2 separate regions of the Homo sapiens genome follow, and region 1 is linked to region 2. The links are contacts of gene promoters, found by promoter capture Hi-C in blood cells and fetal thymus (Javierre and others, 2016). All regions are on one chromosome and are shown on one strand. The core of a region is centred on a gene start or on the middle of the fragment in contact, and the rest is flanking DNA. Distances in the headings are between cores, read along the strand shown. Region 1 has its middle 26 kb from the start of MIR1246. Region 2 holds the start of HOXD12 (homeobox D12).

What was found. The method cuts DNA at HindIII sites, captures the fragments that hold promoters and counts their contacts. A CHiCAGO score of 5 or more calls a contact.
Region 1: a fragment that was not itself captured here is called in contact with the fragment with the promoter of HOXD12 in region 2 in 1 of 17 cell types (fetal thymus); the score reaches 5.4 in fetal thymus.

The regions. Positions count from the first base shown.
Region 1 is chr2:176,571,638-176,577,468 of GRCh38, forward strand. No RefSeq gene overlaps it. Among named protein-coding and RNA genes, the nearest start is that of MIR1246, 26 kb to the right of the region's middle. The HindIII fragment of the contact is 2,605 bases long and covers 440-3,044 here.
Region 2 is chr2:176,096,063-176,102,068 of GRCh38, forward strand. It overlaps HOXD12 (homeobox D12), which reads left to right and starts at 3,733. Exons shown (of 2, transcript NM_021193.4): 1 at 3,733-4,313; 2 at 4,460-6,006. The coding sequence starts at 3,740. The coding sequence ends at 4,698. RefSeq lists enhancers at 880-1,463, 1,464-2,046, 3,588-4,320. The HindIII fragment of the contact is 6,365 bases long and covers 368-6,006 here.

The DNA of each region.
Region 1 (5,831 bases), core at 492-2,991, 470 kb after region 2:
TTCATTGTGACCTGACCAACTGAGCTTACAATTGTGTTTCCCTCTTGGCTGCTGAACTTCAACACATTTTGCCATTATGACTTTTATATTAGTTTTCATTTCTTTCTATTCTCAGTTCAGCAATATTGCTGGAGTAATTATTGTTCTTTATACCTTCCAAACATGAGTATATTTTTAAAAACATAAATTAGATGAAACTGTATTAAATTCTCTGGGATCTAGAACATATTCTCAAGGGGGATGAAATCCACTAAAATTATATGTACCTAAGATACGCTGGTAATATTTTGCTAGAAAAATTCTTTGTTAGCATAAAATGGTAAAATATATTACATACAGTATATACATATATAGATAGATGTTTGAACATATAAACAATTTATTTAATAATATTTATTATCTATGTTTCAAACTTACTAATTAATGTGTTGGCTTTCTAAGCTTTTCTCCTTTCTTCCCCAATAATTCTGAATCTACCTTTGTCACTATGATTAGGTAGTCCTTTATAAAAACATTTCACCATTCTGCCCCCATGTCTTCACTTTACATTTTCTTCTATGAACCTTTTGCCCTTGTTTTCTGTCAACTCTTTTGAAAGACATATTTTCTCAACTTACAGTTTTAAAGACATTCATAAGATGAATTCAGTTACCTTTTATCCCATTCTCCTTTTGTCCAAGGAGAATGTTGAAGAAATAACATTTTTTCAGTTGCTTAGCATTTTTTATTTCTGGAGAGAACTTTCACTGTTGTTATCATTTGACTTGAAAATGACATGTATATTATCCATGTGTCTGTAGGCATTTTTTAATTTTAATAATTTTGTAGATATATTTATATGTATTTTAAGCAATAGCTGCGTTAGACTGTATAAATCCCTCCCGCCCCCCCTTGTTTTTTTTTTTTTGAGACAGAGTCTTGCTCTGTTGCCCAAGCTGGAGTGCATTGGTGCGATCTTGGCTCACTGCAACCTCCACCTCCTGAGTTCAAGCAATTCTCCTGCCTCAGCCTCCTGAGTAGCTGGGACTACAGGCACATGCCGCCACACCCGACTAATTTTTTGTATTTTAGTATAGACAGTGTTTCACCATGTTGCCCAGGCTGGTCTCGATCTCCTGGCCTCAGGCTATACGCCTGCCTTGGCTTCCCAAAGTGCTGGGATTACAGGCATCAGCCACCATGCCCCACCCTAAATTTCCCATTTTTCAATAGTTATTTAGTTTCACAGTCTTTTCTAGTTTTTAAATTTTGAAACTGCTCATATGGACATTCTCTGTCATGTTTTTCTTGCCAAGGACAGCACAAGAGAATCCAATGCTCTTTTTAGCTATGATACCTTGGAACTAAACTTACTCTGACAAATGCAAACATTTTCCTGCACTGACAAAGGCCTTCACTAGTGAGTGGCGTGCTGGCCACATTGTCAGGAAGGCTTACCTTAGAAGCTATAAATTTATAAGAGGTCTGACAAAGCTGGGATGTTTTCAGGTGGTCTTCCTTAAGATCATTTAGATTTAAATATTTGAAAAGAACCCTCTAGAGACCACCTTTTTAAGAAAAAGCTCATCTAACGATGAAGATGGGGCCAGAGAACTCTCAAAGCTGCCACCACTGCTGCAACCATTTAACATCCTGTTTTCATCTTTCTCCTCCAGCAGCCACCTCAGTAGTCCCAAGGCGTGTTCCTGCACACTTACCGCAGGATGCCATAGCTATTTCCTTATTTTGTGTAGCTATTTTTATGAGGTTGTAGACAATGTGCACGCTGGTTTGTGAAGGGTTAACACTCAGTTGTGCTGTTGTTGTGCCCTTAGTCACAATATGTTTCCTTTGAAGCAAGGGTGCAGTGTTTCAAATGACAATCGGTATAATTCTGTGCAGATTTTTCCTGATTAATGGACAGGAATTTTCAGTCGAATCTTTAAATGAGTTAGGACAGTGTAAGAGATGGATATAATCCTTACATTTTTTCATTAATAGACATTTCAAATTTGAAAAACTAGGCATTGTATACATATCTGATTTATTGCTGTATGTGTTTCTTGAGTCATAAAGCTGCTGCAAAAGTTATATAATGCTTGCAAAAAAAATAGCGTGGTCTCTTTGTGAAGCTGAATGAAATAAAGTATAAAGTTTGTGATACATTAAATCACAAACATAAATATGTACTTTATGGCCAGCTGTTATTTCTAAATGTGCACATTTTAAAATAGAAACATTTACCCAACATGCTGATTAGCAATTTCCCAGTTCCAAAAGCCCAATTGCATTTAAGATGCAAAAGATTAAAATGCCTAAATAGATAAAGTTAATAGTTCATCTTCCTAAATGCTTTTATATGTTTTAAGTCTTACAGTTCCTTCCAACCCAGTAGTCTCAAGGCTGGAGCTACTTTGATGTGGATTTGTGTTTTATGCACATGTTCTCATTGGAACTGAATCTCACTGCATCTCAGACACCCAGAAAAATATTCTGCACATGAAGGGACGAAGGGACACCATGTGGCTCCATACTACTTCATGCTGTGCATGCGGGTTCTCAGAGAAAGTGAACTGTTTTTCCATTTTAATTTCTCAAATATTCAACCTTCATTTTGGCTAAAAATCATCTCAGTTGCTAATGTTCCATCTCTCAATTTTACTCCTCCCCTGCATAAAAACTGGTCAAGGAGAACATGCAAGATTATGTTGATTCTAAAATACAGTTCCCCCAGGAGACCTTATTGGCTCGTCCATATAGCATTTCTGTCTTTGTAGGTAGAGCAGAATTTGTAAATGCCTCCAGTCCTTTAGGACACATTGGCAATTGGCAGTTCAAAAGTTCATATGATGCCATATGTCTGAATAATTTTTATCTACATCTAAAACAATACAGGACTGTCAAATAAAATCCTGCATGCAAACAAATGATGGAATGCAGGGGAACTCTCTGCTTTAGCCTTTTCTTCTTTGTCCGACAAGCTAATGCAATAAGGCCAATAATAAAAGGTTGTGTATTAGGCCTAAAGCCTGTGACAGATAAAAAGAAATGTTGGAAACCAATGAAGCTTTTGCACAATTAGATTTTTTGAGGCTGTGCTGTAAGGATTGCCCAGAGCCTGTTCAGTCCTGATTGATGGTAAAATCATAACTACATCATATTAGCTGTAGAGTTCACTGACAGGTTACTACAGATTAATATTGCCACTGCTGTTCACTTACCATCAAACCAGGGGAAATATGAATTGAGCTGTTCTTCTAACAAACCCCGCATATTAAAAGGTAAGGTGTTCTACTGAACAATCTCCCCCTGTCACTGAGGAAAGACACAAACAATGTCTATTTGAGAGATATGCAGATACCTTGCAGCATACTAATTAGTTCTCTGCTAAAACAGCCCCATCACATCCGGCTGGCTAACGACCCTTCATGTGAGCTTGTTCCTTCAGAGCTCTTGGCTACAGGATTGCAAACAACATCCTAAAACGTGGAGCTGCAAACCTTGGTGATTTAAATGCTCGCTGCCAGGCAAATTGCGGTGACATAAATTTGGCCCATGTGTTTTGCATCATGTGAATACGAAACAGGGGGATGCCATGGAGCCGAGTTTTGTTTGCACTGGACTCTGGAGGTTTGGTGGACTATTTTCAGAGATGCTATTCATGACAAGGGAGGAGGATCTTTTGCTTTACTTTAAAAATGTTGAAAATGCAAGAAGTAAGCATGTTGCTCTCCTAAATTAGATCGTGCTGATAATAATGACATCCTAAGATGAAAGCATTTTATCTTTTTGCCACCCGAAGCCTTGGATAAAAATTCAACAGTAAAACGAAAACAGGGCTCACTATACAGTATATGAAATGGAATGATTCTTCCTGATTAGGATATGTCAATAAGGAAGCACTGGAGTAAGAGAGGTATTTCACGTCCTGCCTGTTGTGATGACAAGAGCCCCGGCCTGGCATCAGGCAGGAGGCCTGAAGCTTTGGCCTCTTGGTCAAGGTGCTTGTCCTCTCAAGACTTGGAATGTGTGTGCGGGGGTTGAACTAGGGAATCTCCAAGCTCTCTTTCAGCACTATTATCCCATGTTGCTGGCCCCAGTGTTTTGTATGCTAGGCCATGTGTCTTTACATGGGGCTGTTGGATTTCAGCATCAGCATTCCCTGGGTAGCTGGTTAAAGATGCGGAGTCTGGCCCCACCCCATGTGGTTCAGGTGACGTTCAGTTTAAGAACCACTGTCATGAGGGATGGCAGTGACTTGCCTAAAGTCATTATAGACTTTATCATTGTTTAAAAAAGAATGTGCAAAGAGCTAGACAGTCAGCCAGAGACTGGGGAAGAAGATAATAATATCTTCCTATAGATTTAAAGAGAATTGTTAATCTATTATTTAAATTTATATTATTTATTTATTTGAAGAGAAAATGATGACCCTGGCAACAGTAAACCATAAGCTTCATCACATTAGTGGACAGATGATAGACTAGGAGAAGATGTTTGCAATGCTTAAAACCGACTTTGACAAAAAAAAAAAACCTGACACAATTAATATCTAGAATCTATAAAAAGCTCCTGCAAATTGACCAGAAATAAACAGGAAACACCATAGAAATATATGCAAACAGTATGAAGCTCAAATGATGAACTGGTGTTGGATGGGGTGTTCAAATTCATTGATAAGCAGAACAATTGGCTACTCTAGACACATGAGAACATCAGAGTTTAGAAAACTGAATAATGCCAAGTGTTTGCAAGGATGAGGGGTTGTGAAAACTCTTTCGTTATTGAGGGAAGAGGAAATGAGTATGATTATTTCAGAAAGCAACCTGACAATCTTGATGAAATTAAGTATGAGTATGTCATAAGACTAAGGTGACAAGAGGCCCTTTCTTACTCAGGGTAGCAGGGAAAGTCTGAGGTTCTGACATAATTATTAATAGTGCCGTTTTCATTTTCCAGGATGTTCTTGGGAAAATAAATTATATAGTCACCCTACTACTGCAATCCCACTTCTGAACACATATCCCAGAGAAATTTTCACAAAGGGATCATATATGCCAATGTCTTTTTAGCATTATTTGTGATAATGGGGAATCAAACTTGATGCCTTCTACCAGGGGAATGGATCAGTACACTGGGTTGTCGCAGTCTGGAATACCGTGCAGCTGGTGGAGGCAATATTTTTTATGTAAATATGGCAATATGGGTAAATTTTTAAAGCAAAATTATGAGTGATAAAGAGAGAATGATATTTAAAATTCCATTTGTCTAAATTTTAAAAACAAATATAAAAATTTGTTGAGTACAAAAACAGTAGATATATGAAAATATATGCACACATCAAAATATTAAATTGACTGTTATGAGGGTGAGAAGAATGGGGATGAGGATCTGAGTGAGGAGGAAAAAAATAATGAAATATGAGAAGGATTTTTTGTGGAGTTATGTGATGATATGCTATACAAAGAGGTGTAGGATTATTATAGACCTCTGCCCTTGAGGTCAAAAATGAAGGATAAAAGAGTGACTGTAATCTTAATTTCTGTCTCTGGAAAAGTAATGGAAAAATTTTCCTTCAAATCAAATACGATTGTTAGCAGGAAACAATAATTCATAGATAAGAAGGCTTTTGAGTCTGTCCTGTATAACCTATTTGCCAGGAAGATGGAAACTATTGTCCAGATAATTCTACTGTCTAGTAATCTCCTGACTGATAACAGCCTCTGGCATTATCAATGAGTGACACAGATTTCACAGCAAAGAGTGTAGCAAATAGTATTTGCAAGGTATATGTTTGTAACTGTCTCCTACAACTTTCAATGGATTCCCCATTTCCTATAAGATAAAGTTCA
Region 2 (6,006 bases), core at 2,483-4,982:
AACACTAATTCTGGTTTCTGGAACCTTCATGCTCTCCACTTTTGCCCCCCTCCCTCCCTTTTGCCCATGACTTTAACATAAGTAGTGATGTTTTAAAATGAGGATATCATTTACAGTGTTTAAAATGATATTTTATACCAGGCCAGCTCAAAAGACAATAAAATTTTACTTTTCTTTCACTATTGTCAATTTATTTATATAGTTCTATTTATTTTTTAATCCATATGTATTTGTATGCCTGTGCATAGAAAAACTTACTCACTTGAAAATTTTCAACCTGGAAAGACCATTATAAACATCTGGACTAGGAAGGTCTTGAAATTAGAAAGACATACCCATATTTGGCAATCGAAAAAGAAACATTTCAAGCTTATCCCATATCGCCTTCTCCGGGCAGTCTGCACAGAGCAGTTGACAACTGAAAACATAAAACCTAAACTTTCAGACGCAATTTTTAGGCACTAGAATTTTCTGTTTGAGGCCTTTTTGCCACTCAGGGAAATGGCCGATGAGGAACTGGATGACTCCTCATGGTTAGCTCCCCACACAATCAACTCAGTGGTTGCTAAAGTTTTAGTGTGTAAGTTAGTTACATAGTGATATTTAAAACCTCACTTAGTGTGAAAACTCTCCTGGTGGGAGGGCTCCCTCATGACTTTGAGAGAGAAAACGCAGAGACCTAAGACTTGGAGCTACTTTCGTTTTCCCTGTCCCAGCTTGATTTCTTTCATATCTTACTGGCGACCGTGGACAGCTAACTTCGATTTTGAGGGGGAGGGACAGAGACAGAGAAACAGAGAGAGATATGATCGCGATTCAATCTTTGCAGAAGAAATAACCCGTGCACAAGGGGCCACACCATCCCCCACCTTACACTTCGGGAAGGGTCGTTACCGTTTTTGTGGTTTTTCTCAAAAGATGTGTTTTCATCAGAAACGGGCACATTTTTCCTTTCTCCTAATCGCCAACTTCCCCTCCATTTTTTGTGAGTCCCACACTCCGGAGCTTCACTCCATTTCCCCTGTCTATTTCTCGGGTTTCCCATCGTGGGTAGGGGAGATTGCCTCGAGGCTTTCCTTTCATCTCTAGTTTGCATGTCACTTCCCCCCCTCCCCCCGCCTTGGAGAAATGGTAGGTTTGCTGAAGATTAAAACTGTGCTCAAACGCTCTCTGGAGGAATTTGGATTGAGGGCTAAATCAATAACAGAAGAAGGCTTTGTTATTCATATGCATTCCCTTTATATTCCAAATTGCAGAGGGAGGAGAGGAACTGGTAAGTGGCCCAGGCACTGGGAGGGAGGCCCTCGGGGAACCCGGAAGGCTAAGGGGGCTTGGAGAGAGGCCTTTCCTTCGGTTGGAGACAGGCGGCAGGAGAGCTCCTCAGAAACCCGGCAGGTTTTTAGCGCCGCGGGTGGGGGAACGAGGTCCCCGTGTCGCGTGATTCAAGAGGCGAAGGAAGCATTGGAGCCGGGACTCACGGTCAGACAAAGGGGCGACTGCAGTGCTTCCCCGCCTCTGGCAGCCCCCTGGGTCCCTCTGGCTCCGCTGTCAGGGGCGGCCTTGCCGCCAAGATCTCCGGCTTTCGGAGGCGCTAGGCTGCGTCTGAAAGCGGGCTGGCGACCCCAGGGAGGCCGCACCGCCCTTCACTGTTGATCTTGACCGTGCGGCTGCGCCCCGATAGGCATGGAGCGCGCTCGCCATCTCCTGGGCATTGGGCGGCATTGGCAGAGCTCTCTATTCGCTCCTCAGCCAAATCCTGTTCCATTCTCTTAATCACCAGCCAAGCCACTCTCCCGCCACTACTTTCCACCCCGATCCTCCCTCGATCAGGTTCCCCAGCTCGCATAAGACTTTGCCTGCCAGACCTCGAAAGTCATAAACCCGGGGGATGAAGTGGGAAGACTGTCCAAGGAGCAATGGAGGGAACCTAGTTGTTCTTGTTTTTCCTGTTTTTCACTGAGTTCTTTTATGCCTTTAGTCCTGAGGCGCAAACAGCTGTTGTAGGGCTGCCTAAAGGTCCGAAAGAGACACCCCTCGGCTTGGAAATAACGAGGAATCGTCGTGCACTGAAACGTGAGGAGAGACTGCAGGGACCCCTGGAGCTGGAGCTTTCGGGAGTAACGAAGCTGCAGCTCCTCGAAAATAGGATGGGTTCCCCAAAATAAGAGCTCTTAGGGATCTGAGGCTTGTATTCCCTTGAGTATCTAGGAACTGGGATTGCAGTTTGTGCTTGCCCCCACCTCCCAAGAGAGGACGAGAGCGAGTGAGTCTCTATGCCTGGGCTCCTAAGGAAACTCTCTGGCAGAGCCAGAGGAGCCCCAGACATCCCCACCCCCCCGTCCTCACTCCCTCTCTCCCCCCCACCAGAGCAGGAGGAAGAGGCCGATTGCGTTCCCCAGAGCCACCCAATTGGTCGCCATAACTCACACAATAAAGTGGCAGCGCGGCGGTCAGTCTTGCCCTCCGGCGGCGCCTGTGTGGTCTCAGTGCAGGAGCCCGCGATCTAACCAATTCCAGCTTGGCTCGGAGACCGAGGGTCCTGCTGCAGGCTGAGACTGGCGCCGGTCACCGGGTCTCCCAGGGTCTTGGGATCAGAGGCAGGAGGGGAGGACCCCTAGTCCTCTGGCCGGACTAGGCAAGAGGGCCAGCGACGGGGTCTGAGCACACCGCTCCCGGCTAAGAACTGCTGCCTTTCCCACTTCCCTGTTTGTCAGACCCGTGAACTCCCTATCCCCGGCACCCCTGGGGGCGCTGAGGCAAGGAACTCTGCTAGCCAGCTGCCTCCGAACGCCCGCTGTTCCCCGGCCAGGTGGTTCTGGCTCTTCTGCCTTTCCACACCCAGTCGGGGGAGTTCGTCCTGCTTTGCCCTCCACTTGGTGGATGGGGACACCTCGGAGTTCTGGTTTGCAGTGTGTAGTCCTGGAGAGGACTCCTGAAGATAAAAGGAATGTAGCCTTTGGCCACGATTGGTGGATCGAGCTGATGGGTTCCCTGGCGGACATTCTCCATGGACCTGTATGGCAATTTCCCTATGATCAGAGTTCTTAGCCATGGGGACACAAACCAGAAATAGTGTGGCCTCCTTCCTGGATCCCAAAATTGGGTAGTTTGTGATGCCCTTTTTGTGTCTGCGGCCTGGGACTGAGGGCTCAAGTAGCGAATGGGTCTTTGCTGCCAGATCCTCAGGCAGAGGTCTCTGGAGAAACCCTCTCTGTGGGAGTGATTGGGGTAAAAGTGACATTGCTCAGGCCAAGGGACAGAGCTCCTGGTGCCGCCGGACCGCGCCCTCTCCGGATAAGTCGAGAGGCGCCGGTTAATGGAAAATGCCTCCGCTGCAACTTAAAGCCGGTAGAAGCAAGCCGGGCCCAGAAAGCCTGCGGAAAACGAATCGCAAAGCCAATCACGACCAAGAAGAGTCCCAGGGGACACTTGGGCAGAGTCACCCTCTTGCCCGATGTCCCCAGCTGCTGAAGCCGGGCCTGGAAACCCGCAGACAGTTAGTCTTCGCTCAACCTGATTTGGCTCTGCTGGCAGCCTCGTCCTTCGCCATCGAACATTGCGGGTGTTATCATAATACTCTGAAGGGGGGGAAAACGGGTCGGGGGGATGTAGGCGGTGCTGAAATGACCGGCTTTGAAGAACCTGCAGGCAAAGTTTCGTCCAATCGTCTGAGCCTGTCCTCTTATTCCCGGTTGTAACTAAATACTGTTGCGAGCGCAGCCGAAGCCCTTTGTTGGAGATGTGTGAGCGCAGTCTCTACAGAGCGGGCTATGTGGGCTCGCTTCTGAATCTGCAGTCGCCAGACTCTTTCTACTTCTCCAACCTGAGGCCGAATGGCGGCCAGTTGGCCGCGCTTCCCCCTATCTCCTACCCGCGCGGCGCGCTGCCCTGGGCCGCCACGCCCGCCTCCTGCGCCCCCGCGCAGCCTGCGGGCGCCACTGCCTTCGGCGGCTTCTCGCAGCCCTACCTGGCTGGCTCCGGGCCTCTCGGCCTGCAGCCCCCAACAGCCAAAGACGGACCCGAAGAGCAGGCTAAGTTCTATGCGCCCGAAGCGGCCGCTGGGCCAGAGGAGCGCGGTCGTACCCGGCCGTCCTTCGCCCCCGAGTCTAGCCTGGCTCCTGCAGTGGCTGCTCTCAAAGCGGCCAAGTATGACTACGCTGGTGTGGGTCGTGCCACGCCGGGCTCCACGACCCTGCTCCAGGGGGCTCCCTGCGCCCCTGGCTTCAAGGACGACACCAAGGGCCCGCTCAACTTGAACATGACAGTGCAGGCGGCGGGCGTTGCCTCTTGCCTGCGACCTTCACTGCCCGACGGTAAACGGTGCCCATGCTCCCCGGGCCGGTTTGGGCCGGGATGGGAGGTGGGGTTCAAGGGAGAGTGTAAGGGGAGGTGAACCGCCTGGGGGCGGGCAATAGACAGAGTACGGGCTGGGTTGACGTGGGTTGGGGCTGTGTTGCAGGCCTGCCGTGGGGGGCGGCCCCGGGGAGGGCCCGCAAGAAGCGGAAACCCTACACGAAGCAGCAGATTGCGGAGTTGGAGAACGAATTCCTCGTCAACGAATTCATCAACAGGCAGAAACGCAAGGAATTGTCCAATAGGCTGAACCTCAGCGACCAGCAAGTCAAAATCTGGTTCCAGAACAGGCGTATGAAGAAGAAGCGCGTGGTGCTTCGGGAGCAGGCGCTGGCGCTCTACTAGCCGCGCGCGTGGCCAGGGCCGGGTTGGATCTGCCCTTTTGGACAGAGGCCTTGTTTGGGGAGGGGGATCTGGGGCTAAGGCTAAGGCTTTTCCTTCGGTTCCTTCTCTGCTGGCCCCAGAAGCCACCAAGAGATTTACAGACCAGGCCAGTTGGGCCTCCTTGCTTTCCTCAGTCCCTGAGAAGCCCGTGAGAAACGTGCGGAAGTACCAGTGCAACTCTGGCTGGCCTTAAGGCTTCCACGTTGGGGGACTGAGGCCAACTCTCCTTGCTCCTGGCTGGGGCATTTGCACCCACCGCTCATTCTTGCTCCCCGGTACCTGGATTTTTCTGTTTCCACCCAATTCGTTCTCCCTTTCCCCCTCTCTCCAGCCCCTTCAGCGTATAGCAGTCGCCTAGTTAGGGCTCAGAGTGGAAGGCCTCCTGAGGGAATGGAAAGGACTGTGGGTACAATTAGGTCTCTGCAGCAGAAGCCCTTTGTGGCAAGGCCAGGATCTTCACTCTGGAGAAAGGAAAGGGCACCATCCACCCTCCACCCTCCTGTCTGCCCTGGCTGATTTGAGAGAACAAAAGCCACACTAGATCTTCAGACTTTGGGAGGAAAAGGGAGGGAAGGGGAGGGGCTGGGTAGTGGGGTAAACTTGGAGATATCTCGAAATGAGAAATGCGAAATAGGCTGGCCTATTTCCAGCTGGGTAGAATATGTGGAACCTTCATTTCCTGAGATGGGATGAGAGAGACTGGGACTCCAGACAAGTGCCATCTCCAGACAAGACTGGCAAACATTGCCCTACTCCCACCTTCTCAAACATGCCTAGGCCAGGCCTATGAACCCTGTAACTGGATCCCCAGAGGCTAGCTCTGGTGAAAGGAGCTGTTGGTCTGCTTTGAAGCTCTGTTGCACAGGGAGAGGGAAAAATATCCAGGGGAGGAGAAGGGAGTGAATAAGAGGAGGAGGGGTGCTGCACTCCAACTGTAAATATGGCTTTCCAGTTGAGGTGAGTAAAGGTGTTGGTGCATCTTTCTTTCTTCAATTACCTTAATGGAACCCCATAAGGATAGGCAAAAATCCTTCTCAAGAGTCAAGGGGAGGGGAAGGAAGTCTCTTAGATTCTCTGCCCCGCTAGCTGCTCTTGACAAAGCAAAGAGGACCAGAAGTTCCTCTCACCGTCTCTACCATCTGCCAACTCTACCAGAGGCCCAGCTACTGTGCCCCTTCTGAGGCATGTCTGGCCTGTCCCAGTGGAGACTTTAAGGCCCTGGGCCCTGCCAGGCTTGCCTCATGGAGGCAGGGGTTCCCAAATGCCAGG